Regions from separate parts of the Homo sapiens genome. Here regions 1, 2 and 4 are each linked to region 3. The links are contacts of gene promoters, found by promoter capture Hi-C in blood cells and fetal thymus (Javierre and others, 2016). All regions are on one chromosome and are shown on one strand. Each heading gives the region's core, a stretch centred on a gene start or on the middle of the fragment in contact. The rest is flanking DNA. Distances are from core to core; before and after follow the strand shown. Region 1 has its middle 4.8 kb from the start of STMP1. Region 2 overlaps LOC107984123 (a long non-coding RNA gene). Region 3 holds the start of CNOT4 (CCR4-NOT transcription complex subunit 4). Region 4 overlaps LOC107984123 (a long non-coding RNA gene).

Region 1 (6,373 bases), core at 42-2,541, 150 kb before region 3:
GTTCACGCCATTCTCCTGCCTCAGCCTCCCGAGTAGCTGGGACTACAGGCGCCCGCCACCACGCCCGGCTAATTTTCTGTATTTTTAGTAGAGACGAGGTTTCAACGTGTTAGCCAGGATGGTCTCGATCTCCTGACCTTGTGATCCGCCCGCCTCGGCCTCCCAAAGTGCTGGGATTACAGGCGTGAGCCACCACGCCTGGCCCAAACTTTACTTATATTAGTGGTAACGGTGGAGCTGGAGAGTATCACGCCTTCTCCAAGCTGCCCAGCAAGAACCATCAATAGTGTGGTGGAACTTATGGCACTTTCCAAGGCCACAGCTCCTTTGGCCTGCAGATGTCAGCCCACACATCTCCCTCTGCTTGTGGACTGGTTTGGTGATCGACTGGGTGTCAGGATTTCTTCTGATAACTTCATAGAATGGATCAATGAGGATAACCTCAAAAAATCTGTATGTGGAATCTTCACCAACCCAGTAAGAATTCAGGACTCTTAGAGCCCCACAGTTGTGTCCAACTCGCTCCTCTGCAATGGACTGAAGGCTTCGAGCAAACTTCAGCTGGTTAACACCATGATGGACAGGCTTGCCATAAGTTGCACCCTTAGGAATTGGGCATTTTTGACCACCATGGTGAACATGAATCCTATATATAATGTAACCTTGCTTGGCCTTGTAGCCCAGCTGGCGTGCTTTATCAGGCCAGGTGGGGCAGGGAGCCCCGTGGACAGCAGATAGCTGGCAGTACTGCCAGCAGCAGACCCTCAGAAGAAAGCGCATGACATCAGACTGCTTCTTCCTCCATTGCTCCTGGATGTACTTGTATGCATCCATTTTGGCTTACCTGATGGCTGCTGCCAGACAGAAAGGAAAGAGCTTACTCCCCCTGGTCTGTGTTTTAACATTAATGCTGATCAGTTGTTGCATTTAAACTGCAAAGGAGAGGGGATATAACGAGGCATGTCTGACCTCCCGTACCATCATGTCTGGGAACTCAGTTTTAAGGTCTTTCTGGAGTCCCTTTGGCCAAAAAGAGGGTCTGTTCAATCAATGGAAGGAATTTAGGATGTTTAGTTTACCTAGGGAATAGGAAAGCTATAGAAATCTAATCAACATTTCCTATTTCTGCTTTTCTCCAAACATCTCTCATTGTTCTCTCTGTCTTCCCCCACCCACTTCCTGGTTTTTCTGCTTTCCAGCATATTGCCACAGCAACCGACCTGGGTTTATTTATTAAATGGCTAACCAATAGAGACACTCTGTGGTTAGCCATTTGTATTAGTCTGTTTTCGCACTGCTATAAAGAACTCCCTAAGACTGGGTAATTTGTAGAGGATAGGCGTTTAACTGACAATTCTGCATGGCTGGGGAGGCCTCGGCATACTTAAAATCATGGTGGAAAGCTAAAGGGAAGCAAGGAATATCTCACATGGTAGCAGGAGAGAAAAAGGGAGGGGGGAGCTGCCAAACACTTTTAAACCATCAGATCTCTTGAGAACTCACTCACTATCAAGAGAACAACAGCATGGGGGAAACTGCCCCCGTGATCCAATCACCTCCCGCCAGGTCCCTCCCTCGACACGTCGGGGCTACAGGGATTACAATTGGAGATGAGATTTGGGAGGGGCCACAGAGCCAAACCATATCACCATTTAACAAGTAAACTCAAGTAAGTTGAGTTTACTCCTAATAGGATCTCTCTCTCTTTGCCATTCTCGAATGCCAGGGAAAGGAAAACTGATGGGTCAAGATGGTGTCAGATGCTCCACAATCAACTACAACTAGAAAGGGCAGGGTCTCTGAACTAAAGTGGCTGCCAAGAGGGAAGAGGGAAGGGATACTAGGAGATGGCTACAACACACCATACTTTCCAGTCTGTCCAGGTTAAAACTTGACTCACTCAAGACTTAACCAGTGCTTCTCAACTTTAATCTTCATTCACATCACCTGGGCATCTTATTAAACTACAGGTTCTGATTCAGTACGTCTATGGTAGGGCCTAACTTTCTGCATTTCTTTCAACCCCAAATGATGTTGCTGGTCTATGGACCAGACTTTGAGTTGCAAGATGCCGGACTGTGAGCTACACTGAGGGTGAGGACTTCACCTGTTGAGCTCATGACTCCATCCTCAGCGCCCAACAAGTGTCTGGCACAGCCTCTGAACGCAATATAAGGATAGTTATTAAAATTTATTTCGTAGAACCTTATCCTCTCCTTAAGATAAGGCTTAAATGAAGCCTAGCTTTTCCTCTAAGGCTTTTTCAAAGGTGTTTTCTCTAAATAAACACAGGGCATGGAGAAGCAAGGCAGGACTCTTTTGTTCCCCACTGCTACTTCCAGATTATCCCTTCAATATCCTTATATAAAAACACTTCCTTTACTTTCCTGTTTACCATTAGCTCCCCCTTCCCTTTTTTTTTTTTTTTTTTTTGCAGTGGGGTCTAGCTCTGTCACCCAGGCTGGAGTGCAATGCCGTGATCTCGGCTCACTGCAACCTCCGCCTCCTGGGTTCAAGCGATTCTCCTGCCTTGGCCCCCTGAGTAGCTGGGATTACAGGCGCCCGCCACCATGCCCAGCTAATTTTTATATTTTTAGTAGAGACAGGGTTTCATTGTGTTGGCCAGGCTGGTCTCAAACTCCTGACCTCATGATCCACCCGCCTTGGCCTCCCAAAGTGCTGGGATTACAAGCGTGAGCCACCGCACCCAGCCTACCTTTAGCCCTTCTTAATGTCTTAATCTGTTGATTTCTGAGGCAGTCTCCTCATTCACTGAAGGCTTTGGCATCTAACCCACAGCCTTCCTTTCAGTGCCACATTATCGTAATTTTGGGTGACTTCAAGGCCATATGCACTTGTACTTTCCAGATCTCCTTCCTTCCAGTGACCTTCACCTTCACTCCCCTTCAGCAGTGCTCTACCGTGATCGTTAACACTTTGTCATATCCTAGACCTGTGAAGTATACTCCCAAATCCTACCTCCTCTCCTATCAGCCCTTTGACCTTAGCCAGATCTCCACTCAGCTATTCCATATTCTCATGAGCTATGAGCCCCCTTCTGGAAGGCTTCAGTCCTTTTCTGTCTAGTCTATACCCCAAGAGACCAGCACTTTAAGGACCGTTACTCTCAATTCTCTTATCCAGTGGTCTTCTCTGATACTTGCCTTTTAAAATTCTAATTTTTGATCTCCACCTTTTCCAGTCCCATACCAGTGATTCTAAGCACTAAATGGAGAAAAGATGGATCATTCAGCAAATGATACTCATCTAACCAGGATCATTACGTGGAAAAAATAATGATGTTGGGTTCCTACTTTACACTTTGCACATAAATTACAGATAACATAAATGGCACTGCACACATAAGTAACAGCTTAAACAAGACAAAAAATATTAAAAGAGTAAAAGAGAGAAGTTATTTTATAATCTACAAATGAGAGTGGAAGCTTTTTCACATCGCCAACATGATACAAAACCCAGAAGCCATAACAGATTGAGAAAATCAACTACATCAAAATTTAAAAATTCTGTAAACACTTTTTGTGAAATAAGTGACAGTGCTAACTTCCTTTATATAAAGATCTGCTACAAATCAGTGAGACCAATGGCTCAATAAAATATGGCCAAAGGATTTGAACAGTTCACAGAAAAGGAAATACAAATGGTTCAAACATATGAAAAGATCCTGTGGGTGGCATTTATGTTAATACTAAGAGAAATGTGGATTAATACTATAATGAGGTACCATTTTTCTCCAGATTGGCAAAAATCAGAAAGCTTGGCCAGGAGCGGTGGCTCACACCTGTAATCCCAGCACTTTGGGAGGCTGAGGTGGGCAGATCACTTGAGTCCAGGAGTGTGAGACCAGCCTAGGCAACATGGTGGAACCCCATCTCTACAAAAAAATACGAAAATCACCTGGCTGTGATGATGTGCGCCTGTAGTCCAGCTACTTGGGGGTGCTGAAGCAGGAGGATCGCTTGAACCCGGAAGGTCAAGGCTGCAGTGAGCTGTGACTGCACCACTGCATGCCAGCCTGGGTGACAAAGTGAGACCCTGTCTCAAAAAAAATAAAATAAAATAAAATTTAAACAGCTTGATAACATACTGTGTTGGAAGAAGTAGGGGAACAGGCACAGTTTACACAACATTGAGGGGAGAATGATTTGTTAAAACTTTCATGGAGGCAGTTTGGCCAGAACTATAATTTTAAATAAGCATAACTTTTTCCTAGCAATTGCTGAAATTATGCTCAAAAACATTCATTGTAGAAAAAGGTTGGAAACAATGTTAACCAATAAATTAACGATTAAAATCATGCTATATATCTACATTGAAATACTTGTGCACGAGAAAAGAGCTTTATGTGTTGATATGGAAATATCCTCAAGTGAAAAAAGCAAGGTGTTGGTATGCTACCATTTGAGGCATTGACAAAAATATCAGTGGGAAGGAATGTGCTATTCAATAAATCATAAAATTATCCATATGGAAAAAAGTAAACGTAGATTATACCATTCACAAATATCAATGCCAGAGAAATTAATGACCTAAGGAGGAGGCAACATTTTTAAATGCCAAAAGAAAATACAGAAGAGTATCTTTATGATTTCAAGTGGGAGAAAATTTTTAGATAAAGAGCACATACCATCAAGGAAAAGATTTGACACATTAAAATGTAAACAAGTATACCATAAAAAAGTTGAAAAGATAATCCAACAGACTGGTTGTCTGAAAAGAGAAAACTGAAAAAAATTGAAGCCATTCTGAATGGCTTCAATTCAGCCATGTGTAATTAAGCAATTACATATAAATTCAGGATGTGTAATTACCTCATACACATCAAAAAGAAAAAACCCAATAGAAAAAAAAATGGGTAAAGCCTTTTGAAGGGGGGAAAGAATGGTACACAAAATATGCAAATCAATTGAGATAATATTTTATACCCATTAGATTGGCAAAATTAAAAAGCATGACAACTGGGCCGGGCGCGGTGGCTCACGCCTGTAACCCCAGCACTTTGGGAGACCGAGGTGGGTGGTTCCCGAGGTCAAGAGATCAAGACCATCCTGGCCAACATGGTGAAACCCTGTCTCTACTAAAAATACAAAAATTAGCTGGGCGTGGTGGCATGTGCCTATAGTCCCAGCTACCCGGGAGGCTGAGGCGGGAGAATCGCTTGAACCCGAGAGATGGAGGTTGCAGTGAGCCGATATCGTGCCACTGCACTCCAGCCTGGGCAACAGAGCGAGACTGCATCTTAAAAAAAAAAAAAGGCCGGGGGCCCATCCCGGTTGCAAGGTTTTTTAAGAACAAGATATTTGAAGTATCCCTCCATGGATCACTTGTTATAATGGGAAACACATATTTTACAACAAAGATGTGTGTCAAATACCACCTTAACCAAGTGGTCAAGCTTAATATAATTGGACACACTGATATGCACCTCCTCCTGATGTGATACACTGAAGGCACATATCAGCTGTACAAGTGTGGTATTCTGGCCACAACTGTTTAACCTGTTTAAAAGAAAACAAATTGTAGGACCTTTTCCAAAACAGCTAAAAAATGTCAGTTATAAAAGCCTCCCATCCTCCGAAAAGCCAGGGAACTGTTTTAGAATAAAAATTGACTAAAGAGATAACTAAATATTGGGCCAGGTGTGGTGGCTCACACCTGTAATCCTAGCACTTTGGGAAGCCGAGGTGGGCAGATCACTTGAGGCCAGGGGTTCGAGAGCAGACTGGCCAACACAGTGAAACCCTGTCTCTAAAAAAAAAAAAAAATTACAAAAATAGGCTGGGCATGGTGGTGCACGCCTGTAATCCCAGCTACTCAGGAGGCTGAGGCACGAGAATCACTTGAACACGGAAAGCAAAGGTGGCAGTGAGCCAAGATCGAGCCACTGTACTCCAGCCTGGACAACAGAGTGAGACTCTGTCTCAAAAAATAAAAAAAAGGGATAACTAAATATAATGTGGTTTTTTTTTTTGTTTGTTTGTTTGTTTTTTTGAGACGGAGTCTTGCTCTGTCGCCCAGGCTGGAGTGCAGTGGCGCGATCTCGGCTCACTGCAAGCTCCGCCTCCCGGGTTCACGCCATTCTCCTGCCTCAGCCTCCCGAGTAGCTGGGACCACAGACCCCTGCCACCACGCCGGGCTAATTTTTTGTATTTTTAGTAGAGACGGGGTTATCACCGTGTTAGCCAGGATGGTCTCGATCTCCTGACCTCGTGAACCGCCCGCCTCGGCCTCCCAAAGTGCTGGGATTACAGGCGTGAGCCACCGCGCCCGGCCAATGTGTGATTCTTAATTGGATCCCGGGTTAAAAAAAAAAAAAAAAGTTATAAAGTGCATTTTTGGGACAATTGAGGAA
Region 2 (6,809 bases), core at 4,208-6,707, 230 kb after region 3:
GTAAACGTATATATGTACATCCCCTGAATGTGTACTTAGGAGGAGCATTGGTTGGGTCATAGAATGTGTATGTGTCCACCTTTAGTAAGCACTAATGAATACATTTCCAAAGCGGATCTTCCAGTTTACACTCCCACCAGCAGTGTGTGTGAGCTCCAGTTATTTTACATTCTCACAAACATTTTCTATCTTTTTTGTTTTAGCCGTCCTGGTGGTACATTTGTAGCATTTTAATGATGCTGTTGGGATGATTTAGAGTTAATTATAATTGTCCCTCCTCAACTGGTAGTTCTGTTTGACTTCCTTGGGTCACTTTTTCCCTATGCTTACCACATTAACTGGTGACTGGAGTTAAATATCCTGATATAGACTTTGTCAGATATCATCATTTCCATGATTTTCATTTCACTGAATGTCATGCAAATCTTAATCTAACATAAAAGTTCAAGCAACAGACCATGTCCTAATGTGCCAGCATCACATTAGGAATTGGCTGTGTTCACAACGGTCCCTCCTCCTTGCCCATCCAGCTCAGCCAAGTGTACTCTGGGCCCAGTTTTATCAAGACAATAACATTAAATGTGTTCCAGTTTGGTAGAATCAACTCTGATGCCATCGTCTCTCATCTAAGACTGAAGACATATCTAAAAATATTGCTAAGAAATAATTTTACTAGCAACTTATTTTAAAGGTAAAGGGCAAAAGTAGCATCATTTGGTACAGCAGTATTTCTGGTGGCTCCAGTTCTTTCTGCTACCATCTTTTCTCCCCCCACTGGGATGCCTGAGCCCATTCCCTTGCTCCTATTAAAGGAGGAGTATTGGATTCCTTCTCTGTTATCCTTCAAATACTGAGCAGCAAAAGTAACACCATTAAACCTACTTCATGTGTCCTTCCCAAGGTACCTTCAAATGACTTAATAAGTATATTGTAACTGGGTCCTCTCCACTGGGTTGGGTGCATCTTGAAAATACCAGATTTATCAGTACAACTCATAAATGCCTTCAGGGTTCCAACAAGTGAAATTAAATTAATTTGTATTATTCCTACTTTAGGGAACACAATCAAATCCCTAGTCCTGGAAAGATTTCCTTATCTCTCCATTTCTCAACCTATGCCTTAGACAATGCTCCGCTGTTGACTTGCTCTCGTGCTTCTCCTACCCTGGAAAGCCAGGCCTCTGTGTCTTTCTCACCATCATTTTGTTCCTTCAAGCACACATTGCAATTTTTTTCAAAACTGTGCTGCTTTGTAGAAGTGATGTGAAATATGAAGAGGTCATTTGAGATTGTATTTCTTGGTCTACTCTTGCCCCGTTCATGCTGTGAAAAGTGATCCTTGAGCTGTTGATGTGTAAGTTGATATCATGTTGGTGGGTGATCTGGGCTGCCAGTCTTTTTATAGTACTCTGGGTCAGATCTTTAGTTGCAGAATGGGCAAAGCTCAAACCAGAAACATTGTCAATACCAGTTTTTTAAGTCTTTAAATTTCCCTTGCTCTGCGATATGTCCAGGATAGGCAGCCTGCCAGCTCTGTGATGGGCCATAAACCCTCAAAATATATTCCCCCACCAAAGGCACATGAGCCCATTGCTGTTGGCAATCTGGACCGTCCTGGGTGACACAAGTGGCAACAGATGGAGGTGGGGATTATGTTGTTTGTGAGCGTGTGTGTGCATGGCTTGTGGCCCAAGGTGTCATCTTGTGGACTCTAGTGACTACATTCAAAGACATACTTCCCTCTTTTTAAGACTAAGGGGCATCAACATGAACAACCAGTCTCTAAAATTTAACCATGAAGTCCTGTCCCATGAAAGGGAAGAAATGTAAATAGCATTTTCTGTGATTCACTTGCCAGATCAGTTAGTTTATTAACTATGGCCCAGGAATCCATGGAATTACATATGGTATAATTGCTGGTAGGATTTGCATGTGCACAGTTACCACGTCATACACACCTTGGTCCTTTGGACCGACTTAGACTTGCCATACTTCTATCAGGGGCCTTCCGTTGGCTGGACAGAATGTTGCATTCTTCTAGTTCCAGCCTTTCCCAGTTAATTGAGTTCCACCTTCAGAAAGATGCCAACTAGTGCTTTTGAATTCAAAGATTTGTACAATGGGGCCCAAGTCTCTGTTGCTGGATTTAGATTATACTGTGAGGTTTGGCTGCCCTAGGGGATGGGGACTAAATCACTTGCTTGTGGATATTATGTATCTTTCCTGGGTAATTGTCTTTTTTTTTCCTGAATATGACTATTTCCCTGTAATCAACACATTTTGTTTATCAGGCCGTTCCTCATTAGAATGTCTTTCTGACATCACTCAAGACATGATTGACATCTCTGATTTACACTTATTTGCTTATTCATTAGTGGTCTAACCCCAAACAATGCCCAGTGGTGGACTGCTTGGTAATGGTCTTTCAAAGGCAGAGTGGTTGAGTAGCTGCCTTGGGCCACATCTGCACCAAAAGCCCCATGGCAGTGCTGGACACCTGTCTTTTGCAGGGTCAGTCCTCATTCAGCGTAGACTCCATCACCAACACTTCCCATAGCTCAGGAGCACTGTGCCTGTGAGGATGCAATAGACCAATCTGAGCCCTAACTTGTGAATTTCAGCTAGAACCTTCTGTTACTCTTCTCTACTTTCAACGACAGCCTTTTTGCATGTGCCTGTACTCTGACATATAGTCCAAAAGTACAGCCAGATGTAAGTAGACTCAATTGCCTCATCAAATTCCTGTCCTTCCTTTTTATCTCAGGGTGGACCCAGAGTTAACAAGGCATTTCAAGCTTTAAAGAACTGTTCCATGTAGCTCTAGACCAAGATATACCTAAGGCCTTCACCCGTCAAGCTGGTGGGGCCTGGAGTTTTGCCAGGTCGGTTGTCCAATCTCAGAGCGGTATGTGCTGCACTACCTTTTCCAAATCAAGAAGTTCTTCAGCGAAGTCTATTCATATCGTATCATCAATAGAATGAATCACAGCACACATGCAGTTTGTGGGTTTGTGGGGTTTCCTGTTTTTGTTGCTTTTTGCTGTCCCCCGGGGAGCCTATACTTGGCTTTGGTAAATCCAAATTAAAACTGGGCATCTGCTCTGCTAGATTCCAGGGCAGGGTTTCCCTACACTCAGCCCCGCTGAGAACTACGATTCCTTATGTAAGAATCTGTTGCCTTCCTACTTCCCAAGAAATAAGATCTGACAAGTTAATTCGTCTTTACTCCTAGTTAAGCCCTTCTGCTGCTCAAATCCTTCCTGTATTTTAATGCAATGTCTGCCTCTATCACTGCAATGGAACAACTGAAAAAACTTCAGTATGGCTGGGTGTGTTGGCTCATGCCTATAATTCCAGCACTTTGGGAGGCTGAGGCGGGCAGATCACCTGAGGTCAGCAGTTTGAGATCAGTCTGGCCAACATGATGAAACCCCATCTATATGAAAAATACAAAAATTAGCCGGGTGTGATGGTGCACGCCTGTAGTCCCAGCTACTCGGGAGGCTGAGACACGAGAATCTCTGGAACCTGAGAGGCAAAGGTTGCAGTGAGACGAGATTGTGCCATTGCCGTCCAGCCTGGGCAACAGAGCAAGACTCTGTCTAAAAATGCAAAAACAGAAAACTTCAGTGCATTTAGAAGCAGTTGCCTTGTGTTTTGAGGACGGTGGACAACAGTTATGGAAAGGAATGTTCCTGGGGGCCTGAACAGTATCAGTAGTGAGAGTGGATGTTTAGGGATTTGGGTCATGCCCTGCCAGCACTGAGGACTAGATTCCAAGTGACAGAGGCATTCTTATTTTCTTTAATACATTTGCTGTTTACTTTTGTGCTTGTGATATGTAGAATCCTCTAAAGCAGTTTGCAAAATATGGCTCTTGGACCAAATCCAGCCTGTGACCTCTTTTCCTTTAATGGCCCATGAACTAAGAATGCTTTTAAAGGTTGTTTTACAAAAAGATCGTGCATCAGAAACTACATGTGGCCTACAAATTCTAAAATATTTACTATCTGGCCTTTTACGGAAAAAGTTTGCCAATCGTTGCTCTGAAACAGAGGGCCCAGGTCTAAGGGAGCCATCTTCACCCACACTGCCCCCAAGTGTCCAACACAGTGTGTCACAAACCTGGGGTCTTAGCTGTGGTATTTTAGCTCCCTCTGCTGGGCCAATGTTTTTCACCAGTGCTGTAAACACGAGAAAGTTCTTGCTAATTGCAACTTCATCTTATTAATTGATGATTGATTGGTTTTATTCACCGAGTCAGCCTATTGGAAGGGAAGATAGATTCCTCATGTTTCACTAAGTTATACTGATCCACACACATCTCAAGGTTTGAAACCACTGACGGTCAGCCGACCAATTATACAGCACAATACTAGCCACAGATGAAAGTGACAGCAATATGGAACCAACAGGATTATCATTACTCATTGGGATGCAAGAAGTAGTGGAGAGGGAAAAGTGAAAGATGATTCTGTTTTGCGGGAATGGTGGTTGCAGAAAAAGTAGAAAACCGTGGGAAGAAACGGCAAATTCAGTTTTCAACACCTTAGACCAATTTAAACGTCATCCTCCAGTATCATGGTAGTTTGAGCTAACATAGAACCCACAAACATTACCAACACCTGAAAATGCTGGATGAACGGTTATTAAATCCAGAATCAAGTTCAAAACCAAGGAGGAAAACCTTACTTTCTAGAAACAAAGATGGGAATTATAGCCAGGATCATGTGGCTTATGATGGTTAGGTAAAGAATCAGACCCAGATATAGGACCGAAGGCTAGGAGCTTGGGTTGTAATGATCAACTGGGATCTGGAAGAGCACCCACTTCAGTGAGCGTGGGAAATAATAACGCTACCATTCCAGGGAATAAACAAGGAAACTTTTATTCTTCCTAGAGGTCTGTGGGAAGTGTTAGAATATGGAGTTGCATGAAAAATAAGGACTCCAACTCTACAACACGTGAACACATATGGGTGTGGTGGAAAGATTTGCAAGCTCAGAAATTAAAGCTAAAACTGGTCCTGCCAATAAAATACCTGTGGTTCTCACAGAAGAAAATGTACAATTATTCTTTAGGGATATTTCCACATTCTAAAGCACGTAAGACACAGGGAAGAAAAAGAATGCCCCTGAAGAAGAGTTCACAGACATAAATTTTGTCATTTCACACCAGGTAATAATGTATTATGAGAGAGAATCAGTAGAATCCAGAGCTAATAGAACAATTTAAAAGATAATAGTAAATCAATATGTTTAAAATAATTAAAGAGACTCAAGAAGCAATAGAAACCATAATCTAGAAGATAAAATGAAACAAGAACAAGGAAATTTGAACATAGAACCAAATAGAAGTTTAGTAATAAAAACAAATAAAGTCACTGCAATTAAAAAATGCATTTAATGAGTTAAACAGCATTTAGACACAGCTAAAGAGATATTCATGAATTGAAAGATTATCTAAGGAAATAATCCAGAATGCAGCACTGAGAGATAAAAAGATGGGAAATGTGAAATAGAGGATGAGAAATATGAAACAGAAGTTAAGAAATGTGAAGCTAGACTGAGAAGTCCAGCATGTTTCTAACAGGAATTCCTGAAAGTGATAATGAGAAAATGGAAAAGTGATAGTATTAGAAGTGATATAATGGCTAATACTATTTTGGAACAGATAAATATGAATATTCAGATTTTAAAAGCACATGTAGTCCCAAGTGTAATAAACAATTAAGTCTACAATTAGATATATCATAATGAAACTGCAATACAAATACAAAGAGAAAAATCTTAAAAGTAATAAGACAGAAAAAAATGCCTACAAAAGAATAGCAATTGGACAGTTAGCAGCCTTCTCACTAGCAACGGTAGAGGCTGGAAGACAATGGAATATTTTCAAAATGCTAAGAGAAAATATTATCATCCTAGAATTCTATCCCACTGTAGAACCCCACATCAGGCAACACTGATAGCAAAATAAAGACATTTTCAGGTAAACGAAGACTAAGAGTTTATCAGTCACAGACCCTTATTAAAATAATTATTAAAAGCTAAACTTCAGGAAAAAGGAAATGGAATCTCGAATGAAAGAGTGGTGGAAAAGAAGCTATAAGTGAGCAGAGGAACATATGGGTAGAAAACATAGGTGGGTTAGTCAGCTTGGGCTGCCACAACAAAATACTATAGCTGGGTGCAGTGCCTGTATATGTCTGTAGTCCCAGCTACTTCATAGGCTAAGGCCAGAAGATTGCTTGAGTCCAGGAGTTCGAGACCAGCCTGGGCAACATAGTGAGACCCTGTCTTTACAAAACAAAAACAAAAACCAACCATAGACTGGGTGGCTTGAACAACTGAAATTTATTTTTTCACAGTACTGGAGGCTGGAAGTCTGAGATCTGGATGCCAGCATGGTCAGCTTCTGAGGGGTGCTCCTTTCCTGGCTTGCAGATGGCCACCTTCTAGCTGTGTCCTCACAAAGACTTTCCTTGGTACATGCAGAGAGAGAGAGGAGAGAAGACAGAGAAAAATCTCTTCTCTTTATAAGGGTACTAAGCCCATCAAAGGGGCTTTTCCCTTATGTATTAGTCTGTTTTCATGCTGCTGATAAAGACATACCCAAGACTGGGTAATTTATCAAGAAAAAGAAGTTTAATGGACCAAACAGTTCCAGGTGGCTGGGGAAGCCTCACAATCATGGCGGAAGGTGAACGGCACGTCTTACATGGCAGCAGGCAAGAGAGAATGAGAGCTAAGTGAAAGGGGAAACCCCTTATAAAATCATCAGCTCTTGTGAGACTTATTTACTACCATG
Region 3 (6,610 bases), core at 1,534-4,033:
AGGTTCCACACTTAGGAATCATTAGGTAAGCAAAGTAATACAACTGAATGTTTTTTGTTTTGTTTTGTTTTGTTTTGAGACAGAGTCTCACTCTGTTGCCCAGGCTGGAGGACAATGACATGATCATGGCTTACTGCGGCCTCAACTTCCAAGCCCAAGTGATCCTCCCACCTGAGCCTCCCAAGTAGCTGGAACCACAGGCAGGCACCACCATACCCAGCTGTTTTTCAAATTTTATCTTTGTAGAGACAGAGTCTCCCTAGGTTGCCCAGGCTAGCCTTGAACTTCTAGCCTCAAACAGTTCTCCCGCCCCAGCCTCCCAAAGTCCTAGGATTACAGGCATGAGTCACCACACCTGGCCAAATTTAATGTTAACTTTTAAAATTATATGAGAATGAAGTGTTACATACATAAGTCTATATGATAGTATATATATACACATATGCATACATAAACATATGAAAACTGGCAATGTAGTATAGTAAAAGGAGTACTGGCCTGAGATGGTAGTGACTCTTACAATTGGTGACCTAGGAACTGTCACCTCCTTACTGTCAGTCTCAATACAGGGGTGGCATTGCCCCCTAGTGTTGGATATTTTATTTATAAGTGCTAGCAAACCATGACTTGACTGTATTTCTAGAATGGTCATGCTGAGCATTTATATATTGAAATACAATTTTATTATAAAATATTTTCTTCATATCATTTATATTATAAATAGCACATCATTTTGATTTCAGATGAAATCATGTATATAGGTAGTTTATATACCTATGAATTTCATTTTAGGCTAACAAAGAGCATATTATAAAAACATTTATTAAAAAAAGGAATGTTGGGTAAGATAAGGTTGCCACTGGATTAGGTGATGCTTAAGATCCCTTCCAGTTTTTACTGTGATGATTCTAATCTTTCATAATGGGAAGGCTTCTTTTTATTTTGTTCTTTTCATTACTTTGTTTATATACTACTATAGAATCAGTAATATATACAAGAACAATAAACACATTTTTAAATAAAAATGTCAACCATATTGAATGTTTAGGCATTTAATTACCTAAAGGGAAATCCAAATAATTTCCCAAGTTTCCTTGCTAGGTAATCATTTCATGATTCTATAATTTCAAACTTTGGGTAAAATGTGACTTCACTACATATTTTAATTTTTACCCAAGTAACTGTTGTCTCTAGGTTTATAGTGAGGAAACTGAAACACAGAAAACCAATGTACCAAAAGAATGAGGCCGGGTGCCCTGGCTCACGTCTGTAATCCCAGTACTTTGGGAGGCCGAGGCAGGCAGATTACCTGAGGTCAGGAGTTCGAGACCAGGCTGACCAACATGGTGAAACCCTGTCTCTACTAAAAATATAAAAATTAGCCTGGCGTGGTGGCACGTGCCTGTAATCCCAGCTACTCGGGAGGCTGAGGCAGGAGAATCACTTGAATCCGGCAGGCGGAGGTCGCAGTGAGCCGAGATCGCGCCACTGCACTCCAGCCTGGGTGACAGAGCTAGACTCCGTCTCAAAAAAAAAAAAAAAGAAAAAACAATGAATTGAGGGCTTATTATGAAATTAAGTTCGTAAATTTAAAACTGCAACCTCTTTCCCTACTCCCCTTCCCTGCTTTAAGTTTTTAAAATCGGTTATGACATACTATGCATTTTAATCACGTATTTTTAAAATAATGCCTCTTCTCTCCTCTTCCTCATCCCAACACATCACTAGAATAGGGACAGGGAATTTTTTCTATTTTGCTCACCATTGTATTCTCAATATATAGAAGAGTACCCGGCAGCTAGGAGGAGCTCATTGAGTATTTGCTGTATGAGTGGGTGAAGAATACATGCAATAAGCAAAAGTTACTGCTTCGAGCGCCACTTCCACCAGAGTTCTGGGATGCAAACGGGGCGACCAGTACATTGACTGACTTTTGTGACTGATGATTCCTCAGTGCTCGTAGGGATTGTGGCTGCATTTATTGTTCTTGGGGATGTGCCGATGTGTGTAGTTTGTAAACTTGCACACAGCTGTGCTGGCTGGACACCGAACTAACACTAATTTGCACCGAGGTCCGCAAATTCTCAAATTCACACCAACAGAAGCACGTTATTGTAAGTGCACGGGTGTTCCGTTCTCTTGGGTAATCTGCACAGAACAATTTAGTGTATGTCTTCACTGGTGATTTTACAGTGAAGAAGGGATCAAGGGTGGTGGCCCCAAATGCGCAAGGACAGGGAAATGAATTAAACAGGCGCCTGTTTCCTCCTTGTTCGCAAACAGACGCCAAGTCTGTATCAAATTCTCACCCTGGATCAAATCCCGCGCTCTTCGTACCCACAACCTGCCTCCACCTCCACCCCGCCCCCTTTAGATATCCCTGGTGGGCGGGGCAGAGAATAAACATTCCGGGCTCCCCGAAAAACTGTTTAGCCTCGCCCCAGTCTTGGGGTAGCACATTTCCGCAAACACCGAGGACACGGAATCACTAGTGAAAACCGCCGACCAAATGACATTGAAGCAGCACACGCGTGCAGAGAAGGAAGCAAAACACGAAGAAAGGCATCAGTCCAGCAGCCACGTGAGGTGGGCGATCCCCTCCGCCCTCTGAGAGAGGACTTCAACTCCCGGCGTGCCCCTGGGAGGTTACCCTCCGAGGACTTCAACTCCCAGGGTGCTGCGGGAGCGGCCACCGCAACCTCCCACTCAGCCGCCCGCCGCTCCTCCCGCCCCTCCCCCGCCCCTCCTGGCCGGATCAGCGTGCGCCTGCGCACGGGAGGCCGGAGGAGTCTTACCCTAATGTAAGATGGTGGCCCGTCTGGCTGTGGAACCCACCGAAAGCTGAGAGTCTCTCTCTCAGCCGTAAAGGTCGGACTCGCTGAAGCAATCAGGCCCGGTTCTGAAGAGTTTTTTCCCCGACGCTCGTTCGGTGGTTTCTTGTGAGGACGCGGCAGCCCGTGGAGTCGGCTGAGGGAAAAGCGAGGCAAGGCAGGCGGGTGAGTCTATGCGGGGCTGGGCTTAGGGGAAACCCGGGGCTGACCGGCTACGAGAGAGCGGAGGCTTCGCTGGGACTGTACAGGCCGCACCCCCCTTTCTCCCCACCCCCCGCCTCATCTTCACCCTCCTCCTCCTTGGTCTTCTTCCTCCTCCTCCTCTTCCTCCCTCTCCCCTTTACGCCACAGCAGTTACCATAAGGAAAAGGGAGCGGGTCAGAAGGCAGCGCGGCGGCAAGCAGCGACTCTCCTTCGAGAATTTCTTTAATTGGGGAGCCGAGGCGGCTTTTGGTCTCCAGCTTTTCCCCCTGCATTTTCACCGGGGCAGGATTCTTAGGTCTCAGCCCTCCTTGTTTCCCCAATCCCCTGTTCCCTGTCTGACGTCCTTTCCCTCTGGCCCCCGTCTCCCAAGACCAAAGCCATCACTTCCACTCTGATCCGTGTTGGCTGCTGCTGCTCATTAATCCCACTGCTCATTGCCCACTCGTCCTGCTGCTTGTTTTTTTGCTCCACTGCTACCACTCTGGAGTTAGCCTTTGCCCCCCTCTGGTGCTTGCAATCAGCCCACAGTGTATCTGCCACACTAGAGCTGCTTCCGATTTGCAGTCTTTCCTTCCACCACATCTGTCATCTTAAAGCTGCCCCTTAAGTATCTAGATTATGCTCCTCCTGCTAACCCACCTGTTTCTCAGCCTTCTTGAGAATTGTCCGTTCCTTCCCTCTTTCCTGTACAGATCCTTTCAATATACACTTCCAGAAAAAGGGAAGCCCCGTGGTGGCCCTTGAAAAGTAAAAGGAAGTTGGGAAGTGAATGAAGTGAGGTAGGATACTATTAAACGTTATGAGTGAAGATCTTTTATTCAGGCTACTCCGGAGAGGACCGTTTTCGTTTTGCTTTCTGTGATCTATTTGTCGCTTATTCGCTCTGTTGTGTTAGGACTTGGCTTTTTTTCTTTTTTTTCGTTTTGGACCGGTTTTATCATGCTACTAAGCGTTCTTTGGATTGCCTCTCCCCAGGACACTTAGTGTGGGCCCTGATTTATACCAATAAATATTAACCCCAGCATTACAAAATAAGATAAATCTGGCGCACATACAGAATTCATCTGTGAACTCCGCTAGCAAATATAAGTGATATTTTGATTACATGTGGGTTATGTGTGGGTTCTGTATTGAGGCTTGATTTTTGACTGAGTTTTATTGATGTTCAGCTTAATTGATGACATTTTATTTATGATTTGAGTGGAAATTTCCTCTCCAGTTAATATCAGATTTTCTTCTTATTTTTGGATTTGGGAAGTTCTCTTGACATTTCTAGGATGATAGTTATCAGAATAAATTGTCTTGTCTTGAAAATCCATTAGTTATGTATGCAAAAGAAAAATCGACATTTTTATATAAACCTAAGTTCCTCGTATTTTTCTCATAGAAAAGAAGGGGGCTGGGAAAAGAATGACAAAGCTGTGCACATACATGCATTTGGTGGAACTCACTGTCATTGTTATCTACAGTAAAAAGCAGAAAACTGGAAGCAAGAGGTGGCTTATGATGTCCATGTTTTGGTGAAAGCAAAATTAAGATGTACTGACTAATGGTAAAATGGGAAGAAGCAGCCCTGGCTATAATCAGACCACTGTGAGATAAAGAATTACCAGAAAAGCAACCAAGATTACATAGTTCAAATACATACATCCCAAGTTTAAACATGACTTACATGACATTGTATTCTTAAGATATATGTAAAAATGTTTAAAATCAGTGACAGTCTCATGTGGCAGTCCATTACTGGGTTATTGTAATTTTTACAAATTTTACCTGTAAAATTTGGAATCTTAACATTTGGCATTATGTTCACTTGATTGTGATAAATGGTCTGTTTTACCAAATGTAAACTAAGGTTAGAAAAGCTGTTTATAAAACTTTTTTCTTTCAGCCACTTAAGCCCCAATTTGGGGGACCAAATAAATACCTACTCTTAGAACTGCAAGCAATTTATATAGCAAACTTTGTGCTAAGTTACAAGTTGAGTTTTGGGTTTTTTTTAATCACTTACATTTAGTTTATCAGTAGGAGTGTATTTAATAGTTGATCTTTAACTCTAAAAAATATACTTTTTGTTGTAATACACTGGTGGAGAAGCTTTCCACTTTTAAAAATCCTAACACAGGTTTAGAAACTCTTGGCAGTCATACTTGGCTGAATTGTAAGCAGTGAGTTCTAGGAGAGGATTGTTTGTCTGGTAGAAGGGAGTAAGTGATTTTAATACATCTTTTTTTTTAAAAAAAGGTATTTGTCTCACGAAATATTTTCTCAAGTAATTCTTTCCCCTCCATAATTTTTGCCCGCAGTTACTGAATTCTTCATTTCAGCCCTCTGAAGTCAAAAGGAATTTACTTTTGTATCTTTAGTACGTTTAAAGAAGATATCTAAAGTTCTTTAACATTTTGATAGGAAATAGGGAGCTGAGATTTCTAAATAGTTTTGCTTGGTTTTAGTTTTTTGATCTAACGTTATGAACACTGAAGCTTCATATTTTCATGGTTTCTTTTGATAATTTGGAATACTTTCTGCCAGGTTGAGTAGTTGAATTCTTGAGATCAATAGATTATTTCTGTAAGAAGGTTTTGAACATGAATCGCTTAAAGTTGGCCTATTATAAAATTAGGATGAGACAGTTATAATCAAATGACAAAGTGCAGAAAAATAAAATTGTTTTTGTAATGCCCTTCAACTTGAGTCTAAATGGGAGTACTAGCGATAACTTGCAACTCATTTGTTAAAGAAAGGGTGTTGCCAGTGGATGAACTCCTAGCTTTAGGGGAGTCTTATTTTAAAAATGATTTTGTGTGCTTTAAAGGAATGAAAAAATATCTTATCAGTTTAAGCAGTTTGGATTTAGAAATCTTCCCTTTTTTCACCTCCCTAATCTTGGCTTTAAAAGGAATCCATATTCTTCAGTTTAATAAATTTATCTTTTTGTTGTTTTGTATGAGAAAAATATTAAATTTTCTTTTCTTTCTTTTTCTTTTCTTTTCTTTTTTTTTTTGAGACAGTCTCGCTCTGTCACTCAGGCTGGAGTGCAGTGGTGCGATCTTGGCTCACTGCAACCTCTGCCTCCCAGGTTCAAGCGATTCTCCTGCCTCAGTCTCTTGAGTAGCTGGGATTACAGGCGTGTGCCACCATGCCCGGCTAAGTTTTGTATTTTTAGTGGAGACGGGGTTTCACCATGTTGGTCAGGCTGGTCTTGAACTCCTGACCTCGTGATCCGCCCACCTTGGCCTCCCAAAGGGTTGGGATTACAGACGTGAGCCACCATGCCAGGCCTAAAATTAAATTTTCTAATGTGACTGCAAATAGTACTCAATTAAATATGTTTAAACTTAGTGTTATTATTTTTATAGATCATTTAAGTAAAATGGTTTTAATTTGTGAAAACTTCAGCCTCTGGTGAAAATTCAGTTAGTTAGCTCTCTTACAGTAACTATAATACTGTCTTGACTCTTTGTGAAGGAAGTTACATTCAGCTCATTTGGTTCTGAAGAAAACAGTAGGGAAATAGGTTATAGAGATTTTTGCTGTTCTAGAAACAGTATAACTAGAATGTACTACATAATTTT
Region 4 (6,871 bases), core at 1,658-4,157, 250 kb after region 3:
TCAGAGGCGCCACTGGTCACAGAAGTTTCTGGCTGGTGAAGTGGCACTGAAAGAATCCTGTGTGACTTTGCTCATCTCAGTTACTCATTCTGTGGCCACATCTCAGACTAGCCTTGGGGATTCCCAGTAGCTGTGCCTGCAATCCTCAATTTCAAGCAGTTGTCTGACCACCACCTCCTATTTTTCCAGCTCACTACTTCTAGTCCCCCAAGTCTAATAACTCTTTAATTGGCCAGGATCTGAATCTACCGTCCTCCCACCTTCCGCTGGTCCCCTCTTCCCTCCTTGAGCAACCTCAATGCCACAGTCAGTCATAATAACCACCTTCTCGCATTTGCAACGCCCTTAGTCTGCTCTCTTCTTTACACTCTCTTGGCAAAACCTGAACGCTGATGAGAAATAACTCTTCACTCTGCACCTGCACTCGTGCAGTTGAGCATCTCTGGGGAAAACATACAGTTGAATGGAGTGGTTTTAGATTCAGACCCTGAACTTCACGGGATCCTCAGTGCCGCCTGGCAGGCAGGAACCCTTTCCCAAGCACACTGCTCTCTCTGCTAAAACTCTTTCCACCTCTGTCTTCTTCTTCTTTTTTTTTTTTTTTTTTTGAACTTCACGGGATCCTCAGTGCCGCCTGGCAGGAAGGAACCCTTTCCCAAGCACAAGGCTCTCTCTGCTAAAACTCTTTCCACCTCTGTCTTCTTCTTCTTCTTTTTTTTTTTTTTTTTTTTTGAGACGCTCACTGTCACTCTGGCTGGAGTGTAGTAGTGCGATTACAGATCACTGCAGTCTTGACCTCTGGGCTCAAGGGATCCTCCTGTCTCAGCCTTCCGTGTAGCTGGGGCTACAGGCATGTGCCACCGCACTCTGCTAATTTTTTAAAAAATACTTTGTGGAGACAGAGTCTTGTCATGTTGCCCAGGCTAGTCTTGAACCGCTCGGCTCGAGCAGTCCTCCAGCCTTGGCTTCCCAAAGTGCTAGGATTACAGACATGAGCCACCATACCCAACCTCAGCTTCTTATTTCAGAGAAATCTGTAAAGGAGTAATCAGATGAGAAACTGTGCAAACACCTGCATGTCTCCACTCCTAGCTTTGGTGCCCCTTGACTCTCCCTCCTGTTGGGTGAATGAGCTGCCTGGCTCCTCCCTGAAGCTGGTTCCTCCCCTTGTGCTCCAGAGCCCATTCCCTGATTTCTATTCAAGGGTTTCACTGCGACAAGTCTCCTATCTTGCATCAAGTTTTCTCTTTCTTTCAGTAACGCATGTCAGCATACACACCTGCTGTTATTTCTGCTATCTTAAAAAAAGATTTTTTTTCTTAAAAAGAGACTTTTGTGAGTGTGTGCCATGGTAGGCTTAAAGTAACAGGGTCCCGCCCATCTAACATGCTGTAATAAATGTGCTGGAGCTGAGGACCTGCGCTTAGCTGCTCCAGGAGTCCTGGATGCCTCTCATACCAGTCAAGAGCAGGCCCATCCTCTTTCCTTACCCTACTGCTTCTGTGCCCACAGAAGCCCTTCACATCCTGTCTCATTCTGCCCTTTGTTCCTTTTCCTTTGGTTGACAGCTCCAGGACTTCAGAACATTCCCTATGTTCTCACCAAACAGCTGCCAGGCAGCCAGGCTCAGTTTTCCAAGTGGGTTTTCCTGTACTTTATTTTCGTATCGTGCTGTCCCCAGGCAGCCAAAGCAGGATGAACAGCAGGAGAAGAGAGCCAGGCCCTCTCCTGGAACAGCCTCCTGGTCTTCCCTCAGCTGTACTTTTTTTTATTGTCAGAACACGTAGTTTCAGAGCTTCAGGAACAAGGCAGCTTTGTGAGAAGCATATGCAAGAAGGGACAGATTTCTGACATTTCCATAAAAGCACAAAGGCTTGTTTTGTTCAGAATCAAGGTTGGAGAAGTAGCTGGTGGATAAGAAGTAATTGACGAGATGGGCTTGGGGTAATTAGCTTGATTCAATTAGCATGAGGTGGAACTGAGTTACCCAAGCTAGATGTCAGCTCAGCCCAGCCACCACCCGCCCACACCATCTGCACTCAATAAGCATTTATCTGTTGGAGCTTTTTCTGCACATTCCAAGGTCGCTATCAGAATCTGAATCCCCTGTTCTGATAATGCAGTGCCTAGAGCCACGGCCTCGCAGCTTCCCTCCTTCACCTCCAATCTTGCTTCTTCCCGCCTCCACTTGACCTCCCATGATCCCCCTCCCAGTCATCACCTAGAGGTGATGCACAGAGTGGCCGACAGAGTGAACTCCAAGGGCTGGCTTCACATTCCTACATCCTAATTCTTTAGAGGCAGGGCTTTTTTGTGACTTTAAACAACAAAATTGTTCCCCATTCATTAACTTATTGGGGATAAAAAGAGTTAGAGGTGAGGTGATCTGAGATTCTTCTATTAAATGGTTTGGGGCTTCAGTTAAATCATTGTTTCTTCATCTGTCAAATGGCAGTAATAACAGAGGCCCAACCTCCACAGGGAGCTGCTATAACAACAACAACATAAAAATCCCCAAGGGGTACCCGTGATGTTGGTTTCATGTGTCAAGCTGGCCAAGCTATAGTATCCAGTTATCTAATCAGGCACTCCTTTAGGGGGTGTTGTGAAGGCATTTTATAGATGTGGTTAACAAACCAGTCCACTTTAAATTAAGAAGATTGCCCTTGCTGATGTGATTGGGGCTCACCATCCATTAGCTGAAGGCCGTAAGAACAGAACTGAGGTTTCTGGGAGGAGACATTCTTTCAAGACTGCACTGCCAACTCCAGCCTGAGTTTCCAGCCTCCTGGAAGCCCTACAGATTTCAGACATGCAGTCCCCACAAACAGATAAACCAATTTCTTAAAATAAATCTCGGTGTCTCTATATCGTATTGGCACTGTTTTTCTGCAGAACTCTGATTGCTACAGTACTGACTGATATAGGAAGATACCTTCCCGATACAAGTCCTTGGTGGGGAGGAAGGGAGATTGAGAACCACGTGAAGGTAGTTTTATGCAATAACTCCATCCCAGGCTATGCCAATACCCAAGGCTGCAGGAGAGAAGCAGAGGGCTGTTGGGCTCACAACCCAGCACAAGGTTGTGGGGGGAAGGGACACCTCCACATCCTGCTGAGGTCCTCTCTGACTAGGGGCTGCTGGCAGGTATGGCTCAAGGAATGAAGTCGCAGCCTTGGACTAAATAGGATCAGGGTGGAGCTTGGTACAAAGAGGGAGGGGCTGGCTAGCACTGGCATACATTGCTTGAGGGCCTACTATGTGCACGCCCCTCTGTAAAGCTGCATTTCTTCTTTCCCACACAGCTGGCTTGGTGAGCCTCTAGGGGTGGCCAACCTGAGCTCCTGCATTCCTGTCTTTCCAGCAGGAGTTCAAGCTGCCCCTGAGCACAAAGGCCCTTCCTGCCCAGCTCCTGGAGAGCCTCCCTCTGCCCACTCGGTGCGGTGATTTGTAAGCTGTGAAGGGCTTGCGAAGCTCCTATCCCTGCACACCCCGGGGGAAGTCCTTGAGTGCGGGCTCATGCATCTCAGGACTGCTTTGGAGTCACACAGGACTGGGTCTGGGTCCTAAGACTTAGCCGGTGTTTCAGACTCTCGCTAGGAGATAACACAGTCCAAGCCTTTGGGAGGGCCTCAGTGCAGGGGAGGGGCTGCTATGATGCCTTGAAAACTGTAAAGAGCCATGCAAGCCCATTCTCCCCGCACACCCTGCATTAGTCTGGGTTCTCCAGAGAAATAGAGCCAATAAGATGTGTATATACGTAGATACAGAGAAAGAGAGAGGTGAAATATTTATTTTAAGGAAGGGACCCATGCAGTTGTGGAGGTGCAAGTCTAAAATCTGCAAGGCGGGCCGGCAGGCTGGGAAGAGCCGCAGTTCAAGTCCAAAGTTGGACTGCTGGCAGGATTCCCTCTTTCTCCCGGGAGGTCGGTCTCTTTCGATTCAGGCCTTTAACCTATAGGAAGCATTCTGAGGATCATCTGCTTTACTGGAAGTCTCCTGACTTAAATGTTAATTTCATTAACAATACCTTCACAGAAACATCTAAAATAATGTTTGACCAAATTCCTGGGTATCACAGACTAGCCAGGTTGACACATAAAATTCACCCTCACCCCCAGTGTCCAAGCCCAGGTACACGTATGCACCCTTTGCCCAGAAGCCTCACCAGAAAGCCCTCGGAACCCTCGGACCTCACTGTAGCTCCTGTTCAGGTGACTTTATTACCAGGAGCAGCAGATGAATCTGGTTCCACCCAGCTGTCCTGTGGCACAGGGTTGAGGTCAGCACTGCCCCTGGCTCTCAGAGTGTGCAGGATGAGCAGGTGGGCTGTGGAACTCTCTAGAACCCATCAGGGCAATGCCCTGTGCCCAGGACATGCTGAAAGTACCTGGTGTTATGTCACCTCCGAGGACAGATCCTGCCTGTCCTCCTTGAAAGGCCCATGGCCTGGGCCCCAGCTGTACTTTCTACCCCCTTAATAGGAGCACAATAGCAGCAGGCCAGCCCTTTGTGCCAAACAGTCCCTAAAGACCAACACGAGGCCGTGCTTCTCTTATACTTTATAATAATCAGAAACTAAAATCATCAAAATGCTTCTGGAACAACCCACTCCAAAGAGTCCTGGAGGCCAAGGCAGGTGCAACCTTAGCTGCCAGCATTCAACCTTGGGAACTGCCCACCTCATTCAGTCCCTCCCCTCGCAGCTCCTCTTCTGCATTACAAATCTTCATCGTCAAAGGTCTCTGTGCACTGCAACATGATCATCTCTTCATCAACGGGAAAGGATGCTTCCTGCAAGACACAGGGTGGAAGAGGGTCACTTTTTATCTGTGGGTCTTGGGCCCGAGGCAGATAGGAAGGCTCCTGCATCTCCGGTGTGCCCAGCCCCCAGACTCTATCCTACGTCTCTTCCGCTGCATTTTCACCTCCAGCTTGGGCCAGGAAGCAAGGGCTCTAAGGGGGGAAGGTCCCATTTCCATTTCACTCAACTCAGCATTCTATGACCTCCAGAAAGGACACAGCAGAACTGGCTTCTTTTTTATCCTGGGGATTTCCAGGTTCCCACAAGAGAGACAGAGGACCTCATAAGGCTTTATCCAAATGCTCATCAATAGAAGACGGTGCACTGCACCACGGTGCTCCCACCAATGAAACACCATGCAGCTCATTTCCAACAAAAATAATGAGACAGCGTGCTCTCTGTGGGATACACTATTTACAAAGGGCAAAGTGCAAAGCAATGTGTACCGTAGGCTACTACTATTTGTGTTTGAAAGAATATATAATATCTGTAGAATATCTTTGGATGAGTGTACAAGAAACTGGTCACTGTAGTTGCCTCTGGGGGAGGGTATGGGGTAGGAAGCAAGGAAGAGAGAGAGACTAAGTGTCCATTGTATATCTTTTGGTAACTTGTAAATTTTATGCCATGTATATGGGTTACCTATTAGGAGATGATATTTTTTTAAGCAGCAGCACTGCAGCTGGTCATGATGGCTCAATGCCTGTAATCCCAGCACTTTGGGAGGCCAAGGCAGGCGGATCACCTGAGGTTAGGAGTTCGAGACCAGCCTGGCCAACATGGCGAAATGCTGTCTCTACTAAAAATACAAAAAAATTAGCTGGGCATGGTGGTGTGCGCCTGTAATCCCAGCTACTCGGGAGGCCATGGCATGAGAATCACTTGAACCTGGGAGGCAGAGGTTGCAGTGATCCAAGATCACACCATGACTACACACCATCCTGGGTGAAAAAAAAAAGCAGCAGCACTGTTTGCTTAGCAAGGGTTTCTCAGTCCCTAAAGGGACACTGTAAACAGTGATCCCAGCCAACACCTCAGGACTCTCCATGACTTCTTCCTCTAAAAATATGTTCCTGAGGCTTTGCTCCTTCTGTCTGTCTCCATCCTAGCAGAAAATGACCCCTGTAACTTGTCAGCCCTGCAGATCAGAGTTGATCCCCATGGAACCAGGTGGCATCCCTGACCCCAGTCAACCATCTAATGAATGTGGGACCTGGTCCCAAGGGTGATATCCTCATAGTGGGGACGACCTCCACAAACTGAGCCTTTCCTGCCCTGGAGAAGCAGTTCCCATTCACCATGCTCTCCTGATAGGGGCAGGGAAATAGGGATCAAGAGTGTCAGGGAGGTGGGACCACAGTCTCCAGGCAAATCTTGTGGGCCCCTTGTTCAGCAGGAAGACAGTGGCAGAGGTTGGGAGGAGAATGCAACTTTTCTGTTTACACCAGAGTCTATCAAAGCCTGAGTCCTCCTGCCCCAGAGCCACTTGGACAGCTCATTCCAAATGCAGATTTCTGGGGCCCGTTCTTGCAGCACTGAGGCATCGGGAATCTAGGAGTGCTGAAGTTTGGCATCTTTGCTTTGTTCTGTTGTTGTTGTTGTCTGGAGAGAGTCTCACTCTGTTGCCCAGGCTGGAGTACAGTGGCTTGATCTCAGCTCACTGTAACCTCTGCCTTGTAGGCTCAAACAATCCTCCCAACTCAGCCTCCTGAGTAGCTGGGACTACAGGCATGTACCACCACACCCAGCTAATTTTTATATTTTTTGTAGTGGTGAGGCTCTGCCATGTTGTCCAGACTGGTCTTGAAATCCTGGGATCAAGTGATCTGCCCACCTCAGCCTCCCAAAGTGCTGGGATTCCAGGTGTGAGCCACTGCACCCGGCCATACCTTTGCTTTGTATGGATACAAGAATCCCTGCTTGTTATCTTTTCTGCCATATATGGAGAAGGAGGGGAGGCAAAGATTGTCCTTTTCGTCTATTCTCAAAGTCTTGATAAAGTGGGCTAATTTAACTGTATCTGAGAGAAAGAGGGGACAACTGGTCCAGGGGACTGTCACCCAAGG

What was found. Contacts are between HindIII fragments. The CHiCAGO score rates a contact against its expected background, and 5 or more counts as called.
Region 1: a contact is called between a fragment that was not itself captured here and the fragment with the promoter of CNOT4 in region 3, in 3 of 17 cell types (non-activated CD4 T cells, fetal thymus and monocytes). The highest score is 7.2, in non-activated CD4 T cells.
Region 2: a contact is called between a fragment that was not itself captured here and the fragment with the promoter of CNOT4 in region 3, in 2 of 17 cell types (M1 macrophages and M0 macrophages). The highest score is 7.8, in M1 macrophages.
Region 4: a fragment that was not itself captured here is called in contact with the fragment with the promoter of CNOT4 in region 3 in 1 of 17 cell types (M0 macrophages); the score reaches 5.0 in M0 macrophages.

What each region holds. Positions count from the first base shown.
Region 1 is chr7:135,654,500-135,660,872 of GRCh38, reverse strand. It overlaps the pseudogene RPL15P11. Among named protein-coding and RNA genes, the nearest start is that of STMP1, 4.8 kb to the left of the region's middle. The HindIII fragment of the contact is 4,314 bases long and covers 1-3,448 here.
Region 2 is chr7:135,278,984-135,285,792 of GRCh38, reverse strand. All of the region lies in intron 3 of LOC107984123 (a long non-coding RNA gene), which reads left to right. It also overlaps the pseudogene SLC23A4P. Among named protein-coding and RNA genes, the nearest start is that of STRA8, 49 kb to the right of the region's middle. The HindIII fragment of the contact is 5,322 bases long and covers 2,797-6,809 here.
Region 3 is chr7:135,506,275-135,512,884 of GRCh38, reverse strand. It overlaps CNOT4 (CCR4-NOT transcription complex subunit 4), which reads left to right and starts at 2,783. Exons shown (of 12, transcript NM_001190850.2): 1 at 2,783-2,996. RefSeq lists enhancers at 2,088-2,257, 2,408-2,527, 1,903-2,807, 2,838-3,037, 2,808-3,713 and a silencer at 2,598-2,837. The HindIII fragment of the contact is 7,472 bases long and covers 1-5,134 here.
Region 4 is chr7:135,256,342-135,263,212 of GRCh38, reverse strand. LOC107984123 (a long non-coding RNA gene) reads left to right here. Exons shown (of 6, transcript XR_007060540.1): 6 at 1-5,500. It overlaps STRA8 (stimulated by retinoic acid 8), which reads right to left. Exons shown (of 9, transcript NM_001394401.1): 9 at 4,550-4,795. The coding sequence ends at 4,721. Among named protein-coding and RNA genes, the nearest start is that of STRA8, 26 kb to the right of the region's middle. The HindIII fragment of the contact is 8,504 bases long and covers 1-6,871 here.